Linked DNA regions of Homo sapiens: regions 1, 2 and 3 are each linked to region 4. The links are contacts of gene promoters, found by promoter capture Hi-C in blood cells and fetal thymus (Javierre and others, 2016). All regions are on one chromosome and are shown on one strand. The core of a region is centred on a gene start or on the middle of the fragment in contact, and the rest is flanking DNA. Distances in the headings are between cores, read along the strand shown.

What was found. The method cuts DNA at HindIII sites, captures the fragments that hold promoters and counts their contacts. A CHiCAGO score of 5 or more calls a contact.
Region 1: a fragment that was not itself captured here is called in contact with the fragment with the promoter of LY96 in region 4 in 3 of 17 cell types (monocytes, total CD4 T cells and activated CD4 T cells); the score reaches 6.9 in monocytes.
Region 2: a contact is called between a fragment that was not itself captured here and the fragment with the promoter of LY96 in region 4, in 1 of 17 cell types (M2 macrophages). The highest score is 7.4, in M2 macrophages.
Region 3: a fragment that was not itself captured here is called in contact with the fragment with the promoter of LY96 in region 4 in 4 of 17 cell types (M0 macrophages, naive CD8 T cells, activated CD4 T cells and 1 more); the score reaches 6.9 in M0 macrophages.

What each region holds. Positions count from the first base shown.
Region 1 is chr8:73,279,346-73,282,045 of GRCh38, reverse strand. It overlaps a transcript of C8orf89 not described here. Among named protein-coding and RNA genes, the nearest start is that of RPL7, 13 kb to the left of the region's middle. The HindIII fragment of the contact is 2,364 bases long and covers 191-2,554 here.
Region 2 is chr8:73,460,230-73,463,015 of GRCh38, reverse strand. The region is part of intron 13 of STAU2 (staufen double-stranded RNA binding protein 2); the gene reads left to right. Among named protein-coding and RNA genes, the nearest start is that of STAU2-AS1, 42 kb to the right of the region's middle. The HindIII fragment of the contact is 5,817 bases long and covers 1-2,786 here.
Region 3 is chr8:73,307,766-73,310,594 of GRCh38, reverse strand. The region is part of intron 2 of RDH10 (retinol dehydrogenase 10); the gene reads right to left. Among named protein-coding and RNA genes, the nearest start is that of RDH10, 15 kb to the right of the region's middle. The HindIII fragment of the contact is 1,785 bases long and covers 501-2,285 here.
Region 4 is chr8:73,989,989-73,992,870 of GRCh38, reverse strand. LY96 (lymphocyte antigen 96) reads right to left here and starts at 1,479. Exons shown (of 5, transcript NM_015364.5): 1 at 1,317-1,479. The coding sequence starts at 1,428. RefSeq lists enhancers at 698-767, 1,138-1,237. The HindIII fragment of the contact is 3,298 bases long and covers 1,449-2,882 here.

The DNA.
Region 1 (2,700 bases), core at 123-2,622, 710 kb after region 4:
AGAAAAGTTATTTCTTGCTCACATAACAATTTCAAGGTAGGCGTCCCTGGTCAGCAAACGGCTTGCTTTCACTTGGTAGAAGGACCCAGACTCTGCCATTCGTCAGCACTTCACTCTTGTCTAAATCCAGTCAGCAGAAAGGCAAGGAGAAACTATGGAGAAAGCATACTTGCTTAGCTTCTTAGAAGCTTCTTGCAGTGTTACACATTACATTGGCTCACATTCCAGTCACAGGGAGGCAGCCACTTCCTAGAACAAACGCTATTCTCTGGAGGAGGAGCCAGGATTTTAGTGGACAAACAACCTTCTCTCCCACAGTTGATTTCTACTTGTGAAAACCTTTGGGACTTAGCTTGAACATCACTTGCTCAAAAAGCAAAAACAAACAAATAAACAAACAAACAAACAAAGAAAACCTTCCTACTTCTCCAGTCTGGTTAAGGTCAGCAAAAGTTCTGTTGTGCCATAGAATTTGAACGTAGCTTTATCGTAATGAACTAATTACTCCTCCCCACTACCTCCCATAGACCATGTGCTTTATCTTTAATCATTGTTGTATTACAACTACTAGCACAATGCATGACATGAATAAATAAATATCTTTCTCAATGAATCTATAACTCATCTTTCTTTATGTTCACTTGGTAATTATTTTGGTTCAAACAACCCTAAAATTAAAGATTATTTTGCCACCTGCTGTTTGACATTTGAGTTATTTTCATTCTCTTTTCTATTATAAGAAATACAGGAATTGATATTCATGTATCAATGATTATTTCTTTTTCTTTTTGTGGAGACAGGGTCTCATTATGTTGCCTAGGCTGGTCTCAAACTCCTGGGCTCAAGAGATCCTTCTGTCTCTGCCTTCTAAAATGCTAGGATGACAGGTGTGAGCCACCACACCTGGCCAGTGATTATTTCTTTAGGATAAATTCCCAGAAGTAGAATTGCTGGGTCAAAAATATATACAATTATAAGGACATGTATATTACTAGATTATTCGCTGGAAATATTACACCAATATATACTCCCACTGAAACCTTATTCCTTGCACTCCATCTTACTCTATTAATAGTAAAGAAAAAAATCCCTGCCATTTTGATTGGCGAAAGTAGCTCATTATATTATCTGCCTTTTATTTGAGTACTAGAGAGAATGAATTTTTTATTGACTGTATTTTCTCTGCAACAAGTTACCTGGTCTTTAATAAATGCACTCTCAGGATTATTTTTCTTTTCTTTTTTGATTTTAATATATACATATATGTATATATGTATGTATGTATGTATATGTGTGTGTGTGTATATATATATGTGTATATATATGTGTATATATATATGTATATGTATGTGTATATATAAAATAAATTACTGGCCAGGAGTGGTGGCACATGCCTGTAACCCCAGAACTTTAGGAGGACGAGGTGGGTGGATTACCTGAGGTCAGGAGTTCAAGACCAGCCTGGCCAACATGGTGAAACCCCTTCTCAACTAAAAATGCAAAAAAATTTAGCTGGGCCTGGGGCCATGTGCCTGTAATCCCAGCTACTCAGGAGGCTGAGGCAGGACAACTGCTTGAACCTGGGAGGTGGAGGTTGCAGTGAGCTGAGATCGTGCCACTGCACTCCAGCCTGGGCAACAGAGTGAGACTCCGTTTAAAAATAAATAAATAAATTATTCAGTTCTTTATGTCATTATTTAAAAAGCTATTCTGGGAACTTCTGGGCAATGTGGCAGACTGAGCTGGCATGGAAGGGTCCCCATTTTGCTTCAATATATTTCAAATGCTGAGTAAAAGATAATTTATGGAAATGTGGCTAAGCTAGGAACAAAGAAAAGGAAATCCCCAGGTGCCTGAAATGAAGGAATGTTCACAGAGAAAGCCACCGTTGAGCCATCTGCTGAAAGCTGGGAGTCACAAAGAAGTACTGTTCAGTTACTATGGCTTCATAACAAATTTCTCCAAAACTTAGTGGTATGAAACAACCATTTATTGTGCTCATGGATTCTGTGGGTCAGGAATTCGGACAGTGCACAGCAGAGACAGCTTGGCTCTGCTTCAGGATGTCTGGAGCCTCAGCTGGAAGATTTGAAGGCTCAGGACGGGAATCTCCTGAAGGTTTATTCACTCACATGTCTGGTGGTTGATGCTGGCTCTTGACTGAGACCTTAGCTGTAGATGTCAGCTGTAATCTTTGTATGTGGCCTCTCCATGTCACCTGGCTTCCTCACAAAATGGTGGCTGGATTTCAAAGGTGAGTGTCCTGAGAGCCAAGTGGAAGTCATATCACTTTTATGACCTAGCTTTGGAAATCACATAGTGTGGTTTCTACTGTTTTTTTGTTTGGCTGAGGAAGTTGGTTTCAGGGAAAGAAACATCTCACCTCTTGATGGAGGAGAGGAGGAACATCACAGTGAAGGAAGAGCATGTGGGACTGCATATGCATTAGTACACCTATCTTTGAAAAATAAAATCTACCACAAGAACCCTTTGACCCTAAGAAGATAACTAGAAAAACATCCCCTTATTGACCTGAGGAGGCAAGAAGGAAGCTTGCCATCTACTTGAGCTATGGTAAGAAAAGAGTCAGCTGCTAGAGATTAGAGATTAATGGTCCATACTAGCTCAAGTCTGGGGTCTGAATTCATATTACTACATGGTCAGGACCGTAGTCCAAGAAATTGACATTTTAGCTGGTCT
Region 2 (2,786 bases), core at 280-2,779, 530 kb after region 4:
TGGAAGGAAGAAGAAGGGGCTTTCCCATTGCTTCTTCATATGACTGCCTTCAAAGAAGTCATTATTCTGCAAAAACATGTTCAGAGAAGGTTTCTTCACCATCATTGGCTACACCCTCTGGAATCCCATAGTCTTTGCTGTGTATACTCTAAAGGCACTCAAAGAAGTTGTCTTTTTTTAATACTAGATATCATAAAGACATTAAATTTGACTAACACATATTTTGGCATATCACAATATAGGCAAGGCTTGAAGTGCATAGATGCAGCAGGAATAAGGAAAATCTTTTACATATTTTTTAGGTTTATAATGTTTTATTGGCCAGCTGTGGTGGTTCGCGCCTGTAATCCCAGCACCTTGGGAGGCCTGGCAGGAGGATTGCTTGAGCCCAGGAGTTCAAGACCATCCTGGGCAACATGGGGAGACCCTTTCTCTATAAAAAAAATACAAAAATTAGCTGGGCATAGTAGTGCATGTCTGTGGTCCCAGCTACTTGGAGGGCTGAGGTGGGAGAACAGCTTGAGCTCAGGAGGGGGAGGTTGCAGTGGGCCATGATCATGCCACTAAAGTCCAGCCTGGGTGACAGAGCGAGACCCTGTCAAAAAAATAAAATAGGCCAGGTGTGGTGGCTCACACCTTTAATCCCAGCACTTTGGGAGGCCAAGGCGGGTGGATCTTCTGAGGTCAGGAGTTCAAGACCAGCCTGGCCAACATGCCAACATGGGAAAACCCTGTCTCTATTAAAAAAAAAGAAAAAAAAATACAAAAATTAGCTGGGCGTGGTGGCAGGCACCTGTAATCCCAGCTACTCAGGAAGCTGAGGCAGGAGAATTGCTTGAACCCAGGAGGTGGAGGTTGCAATGATCCAAGATCATGCCACTGCAGTCCATCCTAGGTGACAAAAGCAAAACTCTGCCTCAAAAAAACAAATAAATAAGTAAATAAAAATAAAATAGGTGAAATTTTTTTACCGATAGATGTGAACAAAAAGTCATTCTATATGGGGGATAATAAGAGAAAAGATGGAGGGATGGGGTGATGTGGCAGGCATGGCTTAGGTAATCAAAGCAGACAAAGAAGCAGGAAGATCGGATTGACAAAGGTGAAGAGCCTGGGCAGAGCTGCTGAGAACCAGACAGCTGGGGCCCTGGGTGTGGCCACACGGCTGGGCAGAGTCCCAAGTGCAGAGTTCTTGGGGACTGTCCAGTTCCATCCCTGCAGGCTCTGAGTTTGAGTTCCCCTACATTCCACAGATTGGTGAAAGCCCGCGGTTGCGTTCCTGCCTGGCTTCTGCTTCTCCCCACCTCATTCTCTCCCTCCTACACAGTCTCCATCCTCCTCCTACTTGCTGCCGTGCTTGTGCTTGTGCTCTCTGTTGGCCTCTTTGCTGCCACCAGCATGACATGATGCAAGTGGTATCCTCTCCTTAGCATGTGCATTTAATACATAGAAGAAATGGTGTGGAGCTTCCAAAGTCACCTCATATTTGCCATGTTACTTATGACTCTACAAGGTTTATGATTGTCTTTCAAACCACAGAGGATGGCTTCCACTGCTTATCCAATAAAGCATAGCTCAGGTATCATTTCCTGTATTACTCCTCTGAGCCCCATCTTCCACCTACCCACTTACTAAGGCTGGAATAATTATTACTCCTTTGAAACTAGCCCTTACTAGGAAATACTCAGATGGCCTGTAGTGTTTTCCTTCCCACTAGCTCATGAGCTGTTTTTGATCTGTCGTGTATATCTGTGTAATAGTGAGAGATATTATGTCCTGCACATCTCCTGTGTGCCAAGCACTCTGCTAAATACTTTGTGTGCATTGTCTCATTTGAGGATAGTCATTGAAGAAACTGAGACTTAGAGGGGTAAAGTAACTTCCCCTAAGTCTCCTAGCCAGGTTTCAGGCCAGGTTGGTCTGACTCTACAGCCTGTATCACCACCCACTACCCAATACATTCGAAAGAACTTGGCACACAGTTACCCAATGTATGTTGGGTGAACTCAACTGAAAGAAGGAAAATAGTGTGGAGAGAGGAGAGGAGCAGGCACACCCCAGAAACAGAAGCTCAGAGCTACAGTTCAGGCTCTCGGTCTTAAGCTGGTTCTTGTGTCAATGGCTAAACCATTGGAATGAATTGCTCTCAGAAGCGTATGAGAAATCTGAAGGATGTGACCAACCTACCATAAGATAATGTTAGGACAATCTTAGAGCTCCTTGTGACTTTGGTTTGAAGAATATATATAAAAATAAAGCTGTGTATAGTGTCTGGCACTAAATAATTATGGCTGTCATTCCAGAAGCAACTGATAATGCCTCTGTTGTCACCAAAATGGAGACCTCCAAAGCAACTAGAGAATGCACAAGACAGCTCAAGTCTAGAAGACCATGGATCTAAGAGTACTCAGAGCCTTAGCAGAGAACAAGTCATCCCTGCCACTTAGGCATTTTCCTCAAAAGGCCAATGTAATAATTATTTAGCCATCCTTTACCTCTGTTGGGTACTCACATCAATTTCCAGGAAAGGTGACAAGGAGTTTTTAAGCTAGATGTCGTCAAATGTGTTTAAACTTGTTCAAAACCTCTCTCGTCCCCTGTAGTAATTCACCATACATGTTTAACAAGAATTAAGAGCCCCCAAGTATTGAATCAGTAATTTGTGCTGTCTGTCAAATAATGTCTCTCTTCTAACCTGGAACAGATGACCTTGCCCAAACCACTTTAGTCAAAACAACAACAATGCCCTCCTGCCCCCATTTTCTTCTAGTTTTTGTTTGATTAAA
Region 3 (2,829 bases), core at 144-2,643, 680 kb after region 4:
AGATCTTCCAAAGGGCAGAGGCTTCGGTTCTGCTCTAGTGACCAGTAACTACTTCCATGACGCATAAACACATGCATGCGAGCTTAGCCACTGCTCCGGCCATCTGCAGTGGCAGACTTCTTAGCCCCTGTTCCAACAGCACAGCTCTCAATGTCCCCATCATCAACCCCTGTAATTCCTAAGTGTAAATAGTTCAAATTCTTCCCTGCTTTCTAGTTTGCTTACTGTGAAATCTTTAAAAAGTTAAAATCTTTACATAAATGAAGGGTAAATATATTCAAGAGATTACACCTGAAAACTTATTCTGTTTTTAAACATGCACTGTTAGAACTTAGAATTCACTCAACACATATGAGGGTCTATGAGGTACCTACATTGGGATAGGCATTGTTAAAAAACAAAAATAAGTATTTGTGAACCTCTTAAAGGATTTTAAAGATTGCAGATGGCAACTTTCCTATAAATCAGTGGTTTGGTACATTAGAATCACCTGGGAAGCTTTTCCTCCTGGTGTTCAGGTCACCTCTCAGACCAATTATACCAGAATCTCCAATGGGAGAATCAGGCATCAGGAGGCAACGTCCCTCAGGTGGTTCCCATTTGTAGCTGAGTTTGGGAACCAGTGCTCTAGAACAGCGTTTCTCAATCTCAGCACCATTACATTTGGGGCTGGGTAATTTTAAGCCATAGGATTGCCCTATGCATGGAAGGATGTTGAAGCAGCATCCCTGACCTCTCTCCACTAGATGCCAGCAGCAGCTCCACCAGTCTGACAAGAAAAATGTCTCCAGATGTTACCAATGTTTCCTGGGGGCAAAATCACCCACATGAGAACTACTCACTAGAAAGAACATGTACATTAGGAAAGGAAGTCCCGTATACTCCAGTGATGATTGTCCCTTAAGTTTTCATTCTCATATTGTAATGACATTTTCCAGGTTTGGAATATATTTGGGGCTGGAAATTGAAAAAAAAAAAAAAAAAGGCAACAACTTAAATATGGACTCAAAACTTCATCACTTTTAGTTTCTATACTTCAAACCACCACTCCACCATGAAATTAAGAAGTACCTTTGAAGGACAATAATACTGATCCAACAAGTCTGATATATTCTAGCTACCTCACAGAGGAACAATATTGAAATGTCATAGAAGATGACACCAATCACTTACCAATCACAACTCTGGTTAAACCACCGAAAATATCATTACTAAATTATGAGAACTGAAAAAAGAAAACTTCCTTTTAAGGACAACAAATATACATGAGACACCATTCCTTCCATTATCCAGCAATGCCACACAGTTCTTCACTGGCCGGCCCTGACTTTCTGCTGTGGTGCTTAGGGCTGTGAAAACTCCACCCTGGGCAGAGCAACCATTCAGACACTGGACCTGAATCAAAATTTAAAAAATAAACCTAGATCAGAGTGGGCCCCAGAGTGCGTGGTCTGACATCTTCCTAGGTACAAGATTCCTAAAGGGCTGGTTAGCTCAGGAAAAAAAAAGTGTGTGTATGTGGGTAAGGGGGAGATGGAATATTGAAAAAGTGGGAAGAGTAGTTCCTCTTCAAACTTTGGCGCACATGCGTGTAGGAATCACCTGGGCTCTGAATCAAATGCAGACTCAGATTCAGTAGTTAGGTGGTGCTGCTGTGGCTGCTCGGGACTACAAGCCGAGAAGAAGGTTCTAGAGTGAGCCTGAGCAATCTGTCTACTCCCAACCTCACGTGGCTTCAGATCAACTCTCCTAAGAGTTCAGTGAAACAGGCAATATAATTGATCCTCTTTCTGTTCCCAGTGCCTCCTACCCCTAGCATTTATCAGGTAAAGCCTGGTTCAAATCAATGCCAAGAGCCCCTAGTGCAAGAGCCCCTAGTATGAATGACCATGGGACTTTGTGGACTGACTCTATGTCTATTTACCTTGGATCCATTTTTAGCACTAGCAAGCCACCCAATCCCATTAGAACAAAGTTTGTAAAGAAGAAACCTAAAAGACTTCAAATCCTTCCCTCTGCATCCACAGAGGCTTTGAAGGCTTAGCTTTCAAGACAGGGACTGTAGACTCCGTCAGCCTTGGCACTTACCTCACTGGCTTTCCAACTTTACCTTGGACAAGTGAACCATAGAGGCTTTTATACTATGGTAAGCCTGTGAGAAAACCTCATTTAGGGAATAATTACCCCTTTATAGATCACATGCTTGGACTATAAGTTTGGACACTACCAGTGGCCCAAAGTGCACAATTTTGAAAATCCATGATTAACATTTCAAAGGCAAAGCTTATGAAGCTATCTGGAATTCTGATCCCATAAGAATATTATATAACAGAATAAAGGTTTTACATTTTGTTAGGAGATAAGCTAACAAAATGAACTAAACTAAAACCACACTTAACTGATATTTTGGTACCAATTATTCATAGAACTTTGTTCAGCCAGTCCTTGTAGAAGAGCCCTATCCATTCGTGACTTTTTTTGTGTCTAATTTGTCAATGCTGATATGCAAACTAGGAAGAGAAAGAAGGAAGCTGGGTGACGAAGGATGCACTACACTATTCTCAAGGAAATAATAACTCTCTCCAATACAAGCTATGGAAAAGTACAGAAAAGGCCCAGAAACACGCAAGTTGGGCTTTCGTAATAAAATTCTAGTATAGTATTGGTTCTTCAGGCTTGAATTTTACATGCTTGTCTAATCTACAGAGCAAGCTTCCTGGGGATATTAAGCTAGGGTTAATCAGTTACTGCTAAACTAACCATGCTAATAAAAAATCAACATTTGAAGATTAATTCTTACACTACACCACAGGGCAAAACTCCTAAGTG
Region 4 (2,882 bases), core at 230-2,729:
CACACACACACACACACACACACACACACACACAGTGGCATAATTAGCACATGGTACAAAAGAGCCAAAGGAGGAGAGGGAAGTGGGGGCCAAGTAGAGTAGGAGCCTTGCTGGAAGAGGGGAATGCAAAAGGATCTTGCAGCATGGAGAGATTTTAGACATACGTTTGGAGGGAATTCAGTGCAACCCACCAGGAGAAGGGCCATGGTGTGTGACTGGCCACACTCCTAAGTCTCCTCCTCACATGTGGCAATTATCCCAATTTCCCGAAAGTCACTTTATATTAGCATTTGGCAGAGCATGTTTCTCAAGAGAGTTAACATACACTCCAGACTAAAACACAAACAAACAAACAACAAATGAAATTGAAAATGTGGTTAAACAGGTGCCTTTATTGCAGAACTTCTCAGAACCCAAAGTACATCTGTAAATCTCTCCCAGATGATTAGGTCATAGATCCTATTTTCCCAAAAGAATCTCAAAGAACTGGTATTTTGGGAAGCACCACTTTAAACCTCCCAGCTATTGCTAGTGGGTGGAAAAGGGCAGCCAACCCATGGTAAGCAGCACGGTGGAAAGTACCGAACCAAAACAGCTGTCAGGCCTGACACTGTGCCTTCAGATCCCAGGACACTTGCTAATGAGCAGCTGGGGCAGGGGACAGTGACACAGCCAGTGAATAGTATTAGGGTATGGCTGACTCCAAAAAAAAATTAAGAGTATTATTGTCTCTATGTGACCCTATGCTAAAAAACTTCACCTCACAACACCCTTATCAAGTAGACTATAAAATCACTTTCACTTCAGTGCTAAAAAGGCTGGAGTACTTTGCTTAAGGTCACACAGCTAGTGACAGAACCAGGCTTTCATCCAGTGAGGGGGATGATTCCAAGAGCACTCAAGAGTCACAGCTTAGAGCAGAAATCAACTCCAGGAAGCAGCTGGGACTGCTCTACCATCTCAAGAAGAAGAACTAGTAAGTGTCAAGGCTGAGGTGAAAGCTCAGAAGCAGATGGTTTTATTAAAAATGGGCAGAACCAAAAACTGGGCTCAGGGTAGAGAAAGATGACGCAGGGAACAGAAGCACTTGGAGGTCAAGCACAACACAGTTTAGAGACTCACAAGCTCTGTGAGTGGTCGAGAACATTCTCATGGGGCAGCTGCCAGCTATTGCTTTTCCTGCTGGCAGCGTCCGCCACAGCAGCTGGAACACACTGATGTTTCGTGTGTTCCAGCCACAACAGTGTACGGTTCTCGTGAAAACTTACCCTCAAAATAGTTGATGCTACAATTATTTGTTTTGCGGTTTTACTTACCACAGTAGGTGTATGAAATACTTGCATCGGATGAGTTGCAGACCCAATACTGCTTCTGAGCTTCAGTAAATATGGAAGAAAACAGGGTGGAAAAAAACAGAAATGGTAACATGATTCAATATCTCCAAAGCTTTACAAATGCAAAGAGGATCAGTAACTAATCATCAGACTCTTCCTTTTCAGTAAGCAGAAAAGATTTAACTTAGTCATCAGTCACATGATTTCTGAGTTCCTATCCAACTGTTTCCTCTTTTTTTGTGTGTGTGTGCTCAACATTTGAGCACTTCCTGTAAAGGAAGAGAGAAAAATGATTTAGAATGTACTCTTCAAACACTTACTGTAAATGAGAGTGATCAAAGACTTAAAAATAAAACAAGACACTTTGGCCAGGCACGGTGGCTCATGCCTGTAATCTCAGTATTTTGGGAGGCTGAGGCAGGTGGATCACTTGAGGTCAGGAGTTCAAGACCAGCCTGGCTGACATGATGAAACACATCTCTACTAAAAATACAAAAATTAGCCAGGTGTGGTAGTGCATGCCTGTAATCCCAGCTATTCAGGAGGCTGAGGCAGGAGCTTCACTTTATCTGGGAGGCAGAGGTTGCAGTGAGCCAAGATGGCACCACTGCTCTCCAGCCTGGGCAACAGAGCAAGACTCCATTTCAAAAAAATTTTTTAAATGAAAAATAAAATAAAATAAACAAGACAATTCCCAGTCAACTGTAACAAAACCAGTCCCTAGGTCCCCCTGAAAGTCTCAACAGACAGGCACTCCTTTTCCCTCTGCATTATTCTTCTCTCCTACAGCTCTGTATAACAGCAGTCCCCAACATTTTTGGCCTCAGGGATCAGTTTCATGGAAGACAATTTTTCCACGGACTGAGGGGATGGGGAGGGATGGTTTCAGGGTGAAACTGTTCCACCTCAGAACATCAGGCATTAGATTCTTATAGGGAGCACGCAACCTAGATCCCTCGCTTGTATACTTCATAACAAGGTTCCTGCTCCCATGGGAATCTAATGCTGCTGCTGGTCTGACAGGAGCTGGAGCTCAGGTGGTAATGCTCGCTCACCTGCTGTTAACCTCCAGCTGTGCAGCCCACTTCCTAACAAGCCACAACCAGATTCCTAACAGGCCATGGACTGGTACTGGTCCACGGCCCCCAGAGGATGGGGCCTCCTGCTTTATAAAACAAATTCTCAGCTGGGCACGGTGGCTCATGCCTGTCATCCCAGCATTTTGGGATACCAAGGTGGGTGGATCACTTGAGGTCAGGAGTTCAAGACCAGCCTGGCCAACATGGTGAAATTCCGTCTCTACTAAAAATATAAAAATTAGCCAGGCATGGTGGCACACACCTGTAATCCCAGCTACTCGGGAGGCTGAGGCAGGAGAATCGCTTGAACCCAGGAGGCAGAGGTTGCAGTGAGCCAAGATTGGGCCACTACACTCCAGCCTGGGCAACAGAGTGAGACTCGGTCTCAAAAACAAACAAACAGGCCAGGCGCAGTGGCTCACCTCTGTAAATCCCAGCACTTTGGGAGGTCAAGGTGGGCGGATCACCT